Linked DNA regions of Homo sapiens: region 2 is linked to region 1. Evidence: promoter capture Hi-C in human tissues and cell types (Jung and others, 2019). All regions are on one chromosome and are shown on one strand. The core of a region is centred on a gene start or on the middle of the fragment in contact, and the rest is flanking DNA. Distances in the headings are between cores, read along the strand shown.

What was found. The method cuts DNA at HindIII sites, captures the fragments that hold promoters and counts their contacts. A contact is called where the count stands out against the background at its distance.
Region 2: a fragment that was not itself captured here is called in contact with the fragment with the promoter of GABRA5 in region 1 in 1 of the 25 tissues and cell types used here (dorsolateral prefrontal cortex).

Annotation. Positions count from the first base shown.
Region 1 is chr15:26,864,175-26,869,031 of GRCh38, forward strand. GABRA5 (gamma-aminobutyric acid type A receptor subunit alpha5) reads left to right here and starts at 2,888. Exons shown (of 11, transcript NM_000810.4): 1 at 2,888-2,937; 2 at 4,555-4,619. The HindIII fragment of the contact is 20,920 bases long and covers 1-4,857 here.
Region 2 is chr15:26,471,565-26,475,951 of GRCh38, forward strand. All of the region lies in intron 5 of LINC02248 (long intergenic non-protein coding RNA 2248), which reads left to right. The region is part of intron 1 of LOC105370740 (a long non-coding RNA gene); the gene reads right to left. Among named protein-coding and RNA genes, the nearest start is that of LINC02248, 79 kb to the left of the region's middle. The HindIII fragment of the contact is 4,509 bases long and covers 1-4,012 here.

The DNA of each region.
Region 1 (4,857 bases), core at 1,638-4,137:
TCTTAGCAAGTGTGAAGTATATATCGCAGTGTTGTTAGCTGTAGTCACAATGTTGTATAGTAGATCCCCAGAACTTATTCATCTTGCATAACTGAAATTTTGTACCCTTTGACCCACATCTCCCCGTCTCTCCTTCTCCCAGCCCGTGGCAACCACTATATACCCAGTAACCCCCTTTCTGGGGATATAGTCAAAGGAAATAAAATCAGTATCTGAAAGAGAGATCTGAACTGTCATGTTCATTTTGGCATTTTTTACAATAGCCAAATAATGGAACAACCTAAGCATCTGCCAATGGATAAATGAATAAAGAAACTGTGAGATACGTACACACACACACGCACACACACACACACACACACGTATATGTATAACATACATATACGACAGTATATTATTTAGCCCTAACAAAGAAGGAAATCCTGCCATTTTTGACCACATGGATGAACCTGGAGAACATGCTTGGTGAAATAAGCCAAGCACAGAAAGACAAATAGCACATGATCTCACTTATACCATGGCACTGTGTTCATGTCTCAGCCACATTTACCACACCCAACCACGCAAACACAGCCACTGTCTCAGTTCCTGCCCCTGACCGGGGTACAGGGTGGGTGCTCTGTGAACACGTGTTCTACTCATGGCCCAGCTTCCCCACCTTCAGCTATTTTAGGCTCTGACACTGGAAATGAAATTCTTATGAAGCCCGGGCCAAGGCTGAGGTTGTGTGGAACTAGGGTGCCCTCTACTGTCTTCCACAACGATCACGACATTGCTTAATTTCATTCAATGAAGAGAAAATGCTAATGAAACAAATGGGAATTCAACGGATAGCCTATTATTTCTCAGCACAAATACAGAATTCTATAGTAAAACAAAAATCATTGAAATGGTAGTAAGCACTCTTCTAGCAATGTGAGTTTCTGTAAGGTTCTGATGGGCCTTACGATTTCACTGTCCCCTCAGGGCAGTCCATCTAAAGTGAGGCTATGTTATGTTACATAAACACTAGGAGGAGAGAGAGTGGCATACCGTTTCATTACAGGGAAGAGAAAAGAATTTAAGCAACATGCTGAAATACAATGTTAAAGAATGACTCTAACTTAAAATGATTTTTATATATTCAATAATATGTGTTGTGTGGACATAAAGCTGATAGAAAGTGTACCAAAAAAAGTGGAAGTTTTAAACATAATCCATCAAAAGAACATATTTCCTTACAGCTGACATTTCTTTTATTATTAAGAATTAATGTCTATAACCCTCGCTAATACAAAAATCATCCCTTGTTTATATACATTTATTTTTGCAAACTCACACCGAATGACTTTGTGTGACAAGCTGTGAAGTTTAAAATTTACCAATTCTTCCAACTCTTTGATTTGCATTATGCTGTTTAATCCTGAGAGAAGAGCAGCTGTCGCTGGTATTAGGTGTTAGAATTCCAACACCTAATAGGTGAAAATTATATTAGGCTGATCATAAAACCATGTTGTTAACTTTTTAAAATTTAATGTCTCCCAAGGAATTTCACCCTAGTGGTACATCTTTTGGGAAATTAGAAAATGAAGAAATGCATACGTTCAGTGATCCATTTTAGAATTAGAAAATTCAAATTAGCATCTTATTTCATTCATATTTCCTGAAGAACCACTGGAAACAGTTATTTAATAGTGTGGCTAAATGTATATTCAGAGAAACACTTCCTGTATATTTGCACATTTATGTATATTTATGTCCTATTCCTGGAATAGATTTACAAGTTTTGTTTTTCAGAAAATTTCAGAATTTCTGGAATGTGCAGAAGTATTAACAGGTAACTTAGATTTGGAATACACTGTATTAGAGATAACTGGAAAAATGAGAGGCTTCCTACACTGGAAGGTCAAAGATCTTTCCTGGAGGGGAGTTAGGAATTTGCCTTTACTTACCATTATTCTGTTAAAAGAGATTATGAATAATGCAGTTTCACAAAAGGAATGGGACAATGGTGTAAGTAAACCTCCCCATCACGTTTTCAGTGGCTTTCCTTTGAGTCTTGAACGTTTTCCACTGGGTGTTATAGTCGAGAGTCCCCCACCTCCTGAGGAAGCAAGACCTGGCAAACCCAAGACGATGCGCTCTTACTTGTGTTGTTTGAAGGGGCCCTGCTGCCGCGCAGTTGTCATTAATGCCACCCTCACCTCCCAGGAACTGCACCACTAGGACGGACGACACACCGACGTAATGACCATAGTAAGACCCCATGTACGTGGCTAATGAGGCAGTGACCCGACGTGGCTCGGAAGCCCTGCTGGGGAGATCCCGCCCCGTCACCCCAGAGGCGCTCTCCGACCTGCAGCCCCCAGGGCTCCTGGCCCTTTCCCGTTTGCCACTGCGGCTTGTTGTCAAGAAATGGAACTTCAGAAAACCCCCAGATATACACTGCGTTAGGTAAGGATTTCATTCTAATCGAGTCCAATGTGACCCTGGCTTTCCCTCCCGTAGTTATGCATTCCTGTCTATGAGTGAGATGAAAAGAATGTCCACAGGCCAGCTTCTTTCAGAAGCGCCTAAGAGATGCGCATGTAAGGGGTGCCATGGAGCACCCGGGAAGGACCCAGGCCTGGGCAGGGAGGCGTTGGGGCCGGCTCTAGGGAGCAAAGCTGTCGGAGTCCAGGCCTCTATCACCCGACTGCTGACACTGCCCTCCCATCCCTGCTCTACAAGCGGGCGGTGGTGACTACACGAGGCGCCGAAGATGCTGTTGAGGGCCCTGGAGAAACTTCAGCAGAACAGGGCCTCTCCCCTTGCAGGCCGAGCCGGGGGCCCTGCGCCCTCCCCCTCCGCCCAGCTCGGCCAAGGGCGCATTTGCTGAGCGTCTGGCGGCCTCTACCGGAGCACCTCTGCAGAGGGCCGATCCTCCAGCCCAGAGACGACATGTGGCGCTCGGGCGAGGTGAGAGCGGGCGCGAGTGCGCCGGGGGCGCTGGGGGGCTCTGCGGCGGGCGGCGCGCGGCCCGGGGCGCGGCGCGGAGCGGAGCTGCAGGGCGGCGGCGGGAGCGCGGGGCGCAAGAGCCGCTCCGCCGGGAGTGCCGGGGAAGTTCGCGCTGGCAGCATGGGGCGGTGACGCCGCACCGGCCTTCCGCGCCTGCCAGCCGGGCGAGAGCAGGCGGAGGAGAAGGAGGATGCATCCTCACCGACGGCTCGCCTCCCGGGGCCGGCGCGCAGGGTGAGCCCTGGGCGCGCTGGGCCGGGGCAGTGGGGTAAGAGGACGCGAGCGGGGAAGAGGACCGGCCGCCCCGGCTCGGTCCGCACCCTTCTCCTCGGGGCGCCTGAGCGGCAGGCTGCGTGGCCGGGGAGGAGAGGTGCAGAGCAGGCGGGGCGCGCAGCCAGGCCAGAGCGCAAACTTTACCCTGGCGACTGCGGGGCTGAAGCCGGGCGCGGGAGAGAGCGGGGTCCGGGCGGCTCATCCCTGCCGGACGGGGCACCAGGGCGCGGTGACCGGTTGGGGGTGGGGGACACCCGTTGCCACCATCACGGGAGCCGGAGGGGTGAGATCGCCCACCTGGAAAGCCAGCGTCAGCCCCGGGGCTCTGAGGCGCGCGGCGTCCCGGCGCTGCTCGCGGGGTGGACTCGGACCCCGCGGGGGTGTCGCGCGCGTGTCGCGCGGGCTGCTCGAGGCCAGGGGACTTGGAGTCGCTGCTGCACCGCGCGCTCCCAGCCCAGGAGGAAGGCGCTGCCTGGCGGAGCGCTTGGCTCGTACCCGGGGCAGGAGCAGGGGAAGTCTGCGAAAGCCGGGAGCGAGCCGGGGAGGGCCGGGGAGCTGGAGACCCTCGGCGTGCCGCTGCGGACCGCGCGGGTGGCGACCGCGGGTGCCAGGGCGACCCAGGCTGCGGCTCCGCAGTGCAGCCCCCGCGCCCACCTGCCCTGGCGCGCCGGCCCTGGTGAGCCTCTGTGGGGGTCCGGAGGGTCGTGGGAGCGCAGCCTCTCCTGGGGGTCCCTGGCTCGGGGCTGAGGGGCGGCGGGAGGCGCCGCCCGGGTTTCCCGCATGCAGCGCCGCGTGCTCGCCGCCTGGCTCTGGCCCGGGCCCCGCGACGAGCCCCCCGGACGCGCCCAGGCGACCACCGCATGGCACCCTGCCCTTCTTGGCAGGAGTCGCAGAAGGCCTTCGCTTCCGAGGTGGAAGTACCTGTTGTGTCTCCCAATTCCGGAGTTTGCGGGGGATGGGGGTTGGGGGGGCTTCTTGGGAAAATGCTTCTTTTCGAAGCATACTGTTCGGATGCCTGTGAGCACCTATTTGCGTTATGCGCATACTGAGAAATGCGTGTTTTCAGGAAGGTTAGTCGTTGAGCCCAGGGACAATGTCTGCCTGGATCTCAAATACATTAATTAGGGTCCAGCATTGAGTGGAGAGACTTCCACAGATGCAGTGCTTAAGTTATGTAGTCACGGGGACCGAATGCCGGGAAAGTAGCCACACTCTTTTATAGGCAGTTGTCACAGTATTGTGATCCTGCAGAAAACCTGTTTCTTAAATGTGCTTTTCCCCACTTCTTTCCACGTACTTTCTCAGTGCCTTGCAGAGAGAGGAGTAGCTTGCTGGCTTTGAACGCGTGGCGTGGCAGATATTTCAGAAAGGTAAAATTACTACACTTGTGGATTTGACGGATACAAAATACAGTCGCTCAGATAACTACAGCGTTTATTTTAATAATTGGACTAATGGTTTATTTGATAACATGCTAAAAAACAAAACAGAGTATTTGAGTGGAAAACAACGAATTAGGGTGATTCTGCACCCTGAGTAGAAGTAAAAATAAGCCTCTTGTTACTTATTTTTATGCTCCAACTTACTGCCCAGTGAGGGTGATGGAAA
Region 2 (4,387 bases), core at 508-3,007, 390 kb before region 1:
AGAGTCTCACTCTGTTGCTAGGCTGGAGTGCCTTGGTGCAATCTGGGCTCACTGCAACCTCCGCCTCCCAGGTTCAAATGATTCTCCTGCCTCAGCCTCTCAAGAAGCTGGGACTACAGGTGCATGCCACCACGCGCAGATAATTTTTGTATTTTTAGTAGAGACAGGGTTTCACCATGTTGGGCAGGATGGTCTCGATCTCCTGACCTCGTGTTCTGCCTTCCTTGGTCTCCCAAAGTGCTGGGCTTACAGGCGTGAGCCACCGTGTCTGGCCCCAAGCTGATTTTTAAAGGAAAAGCAGCAGCAGTTCCTGAGTTGTTTACCAAGGTCAGAGGGACCTTGGTTCTGAGGCAGCTCTTAAGGCCTCTTAGCATGGCAAAGCCTGTGTTTGGGATATTGCTTTCTGAGCCCCAACACATGTAAACATTTGAGAAAGAAAAGTAGCTCTGGGCAGTCTGAGCTATGTGAGGTCTGCAAAATTTATCAGGCCCAAAGAGCCATGAGCATGAAGCTGCAGTCAAACACCCCCCATTCCCCAGAGCAATTGTTTAAAGGCATTTTGCTCTTTTTCCTTCCCTGTAGTTTCCAGGCAAGCTGATAAATTACCTAAAATGTTATCACAAGTTGCACAAAGTGACCTTCACCTATTATCTTAATGTTCCTGGAATTTGTGATACAAAGAACAATGTATACCAATCAGTAGCTAATGTTATTTTAATGAACCTATGTAAGAACTGCCCCTTCCTTTTAAGAACCCACTTATAATTGTTGCTAATCAGAGTATACATTCAGGGCAACTTGAATCTATGTCTCCTGGGTTGCAGTCCCCAAACATGGCCTAAATAAACTCTCTACTTGTATTAATTTGCCTCAGTTTTTTCTTCCTTCTGGACCTCACATTTTAAAAATGCCATCATCTTCCATTTGATAGCATTATATTTGTCTGTGGCATCCTCTTCCATAAAACATGTATATAATCCCCCTGTGTTTGACAAGTGTTTCCTGGATGAAGCACAACAATAGTTCATCACTTATAAACCACATTATTAAGATAGAGCGTTGGTGTTAACGTCTGAAACGGTCTGACTTCCATAGAATCTTGTTCTGCAGGAAAAAAAAAAGTCATATTCTTTTCACTTAAATATAGAACAAGTGTCCACACTTTAGATCTCACAGAGTGAGAAAAAAAATGTTGCTTTTGCCAAGATCTTTGAAATGAGTACTTTCTTTAACAACTCACAAGAGGATTTAAGTTTCTATTCTTTTTGAAGAATTACAGCTTTCATCAAATCAAACGAAAAGAATTAGTAACTGTGCTGGTACAGCACTGATTCAACCAAATGTAACAAAACGATTGAAAATTTCTGTTGAAAAAGTGCCAGAGCTAGAGCTAATGTTGTGAAACCATGTTAGTTAAGATGAGAAATGCTGACCCGAAAGGAAGAAGCAGAGGCGAAATGAATGTAAGTAGAGAGTTTATTTGGGCCGAGCTTGAGGATTGCAATCCGGGAGCATAGATTCAAGTTGCCCTGAATCTCCACTCTGATTAGGAACAGTTACTAGTCGATTTTTAAAGGAAAAGAAGAGGCAGTTCCTGAGTTGTTTACCAAGAATTTGCATTAAAATAACATAAGCTATTGATTGCCTGTACATTGTTCTTTGTATCACAAATTCAAGGAACATGAAGATACTAGGTGAAGCAGACAGTCAGAAACAAAATGACTTTAAGCAATTGCCTCCAAGGAAGGAGGAGCGTGACTGAAGTCCCATACTCAGGTTTCCCTGAGCCTGATACATTTTGCATACCTCACACAGCTCACACTGCCAGGGCCTATTTTTCTATTCTCAAAAGGTAGGGAGAAGAGGTTCTAAAATTAATGTGTTATTTAGAATTTTATATTAATTCTTTCTTTTCCAATGCCTATAACAACAAAGGATGAAGCATGAAGTCTTGTCAGTTGTCTAAGTGCTGTCTAAATGGAGAGGCAAAAATACTTTTAACAGCTTTGATAGAAGTGAATTTGATATGCAAAAAAACTGCACATATTTAATGTATGCAATTTGATGAGTTTGGACATTTGCAGACACCCGAATACCATCACCACAGTCAAGGTAATAAGCACATCCATCTCCTCCAAAAGTTTCCTATGTCTCTGCATGTTTTTTCTCAGGCAAAGTATTTTTCATCAGTACATAGAACTTACATAAATAAAGGGAAGAAAACACTAAAGACATGTGAAAAAAAATTCTTAGCATTCTACCATAGAAAGAATCTTAGCAATCCCTGTCTTCTCATTTTGCATATGAGTGAAGAGGGCACAAGGTAGGGGGTTAAATGACTTATTTTGGACGCACAGAGAAAGGGACCCAGGTGTTCTGGTTCCAAATTGCAGGCTGCTGCTCTTCTCGCATGGTAATTTTCCCTCCAGATCACCCCTGCCTGGTCCAGCCTCTAACACAAATCCTCTTTGCCCATTTTATTTAGTTTTTATTCCTATTTACTGTGTTGTTTAAAACAGTGATGACAGAAATGTCCAAATTCTGCCAAAACATGTTAGAGGTTTATTCTGAGCCAATAGGAATGGCCGTGGCCCAGGTTACATAATCTCAAGAGGTCCTGAGAAAGCACACCCAAGGCAGTTGGGTTACTTCTTACTCAATCAGTCTTTGTGACCATAAAACAGCAACTAAACCCCAGGCAGCACTTACCATCTATCATCTATCATCTATAACCTGTCTGTTCCACATTTGCTAAGGCACTGAGTGGGATGGGGTCCCAGTCCAGCACAGGGACCCATCAGGGTGACAATGTGAAGTTTGGTAGGATCACAGTGATGGTCATCACTATACCCTAGTGACCCAGGGCTTCACTGAGGCCAACCTCTAGTCCTCATAGGAGTACTGGGTCAAGAGTCCTAAGGACTTTCCTTTGGTTTTGCTGTTCTTGACTCACTTGGACCAACTCCCTGCCCATCTCAGCTGCAAGGTTTGCTTGAGAGCGTCTCACACTCATCAGGCCTTTCAGCTTCTTCATTTCCCAAACAGAAAAAGAACTAGACGCTGTGAACCAGTTTGTATCACTACCTTCCACTTGGAGAAGCTTGAAAATTAAACACTCTTATTTCCTGGAGTCTCTTGCAGCTAGGATCTAGGGTGCTGATTAGTCCCTGCCAACTAAATTAGCATGTGTTATGATTTCCATTGTTATTGTTTCTTTTTAATTTGGTCTTGGGGGTCTCTCTCCTGAGAGGGTCGGAAGCCAAGACAGAACCACTCTCTAGGACAAGACTGACAAGGGGAAAGTTAAGTTCATGTGAGTCAGTCAGTTAAAACACAAGAGGAAGTAAAACCAAAATGCAGGGAGCAGAAGAAATGTATTACTCCCAGTCCCAGAGAGGCTGGGGGTGGTGACAGGAAGTCTGGAGGGGGAGGGAGTTCAACCAGTGAGAGGAAGAGAGGCAGGAGCTGGGACTAGGCCTTCATTAAGGCCCATGGGCATTTCCTTAGGCTTTCCCATGGGGTTTTGAGTTGGCTAGTTTTAAAAAAAGATGCACAAAGCAGGAAACCTCTTTAAATGACTCTGCTGTTATTGTGGTCAGCAGCTGCAGGGTGGGTTGGGTTTGGGTCAGTGGAACAAGATGCCAGCAGACAATATTGCAGACAACCACACAGGGCAGGGAAGGTTTAGCTAGGTCAAAATGGACAGATAGGACCATTTCAAACAACTTATGTCAAGCCTAAAAATGGGTGCTGAGGCAGCAACTCTATTAAACCAATTCATGACGATTTGCTCAAGATTTGGAAGAGAGGACGCGAGGAGGCTGGACTCCCATCTTCGTTAGTTGGTTCTGTGCACAAGCAACATCATAGGAACAGGAGGCTTTGGGCAGGAGCTTGCTCCCGGGGGCCCTTCTCTTGCTCCCTGAGTGAAAGAGGCAGCCGGCGGGGACATAGCTTTGTGATGGTTTGCAATTGTAGGAGAGATTTAGAGGCCACATTTCATAGCCTCAGGGGTAGGAACTTCCCTGTGGGTGGGACCTGTGTACTCAGGGCCGTTTCTGGAGGCCAGCCTGTTCCCTCCTGCTTTCAGCTCTTCCACCAGCTGTGTGCGTATCTACTCCTGTGTACTATATCATTTCCTGACTAACGGCCCTGGAGTGACTCCTGCGTCCTGCAGTGAGCCCTGACCCCTGCAGGTGGGTCTGGAGGAAACCTAGACATCACCCATCTTCACTGCGCTAGGCATGGTCTTAGGAAATGTTAAGGGCAAGATGTTTGTCATACATTGGACAGAAAAGACTAGAGTGTGACAGTTTCTGAGTTAATTACACATAATAGCACACAAACCGGTAAATATCTTCTTCATGTAAAGATACGTTAGGAAAAG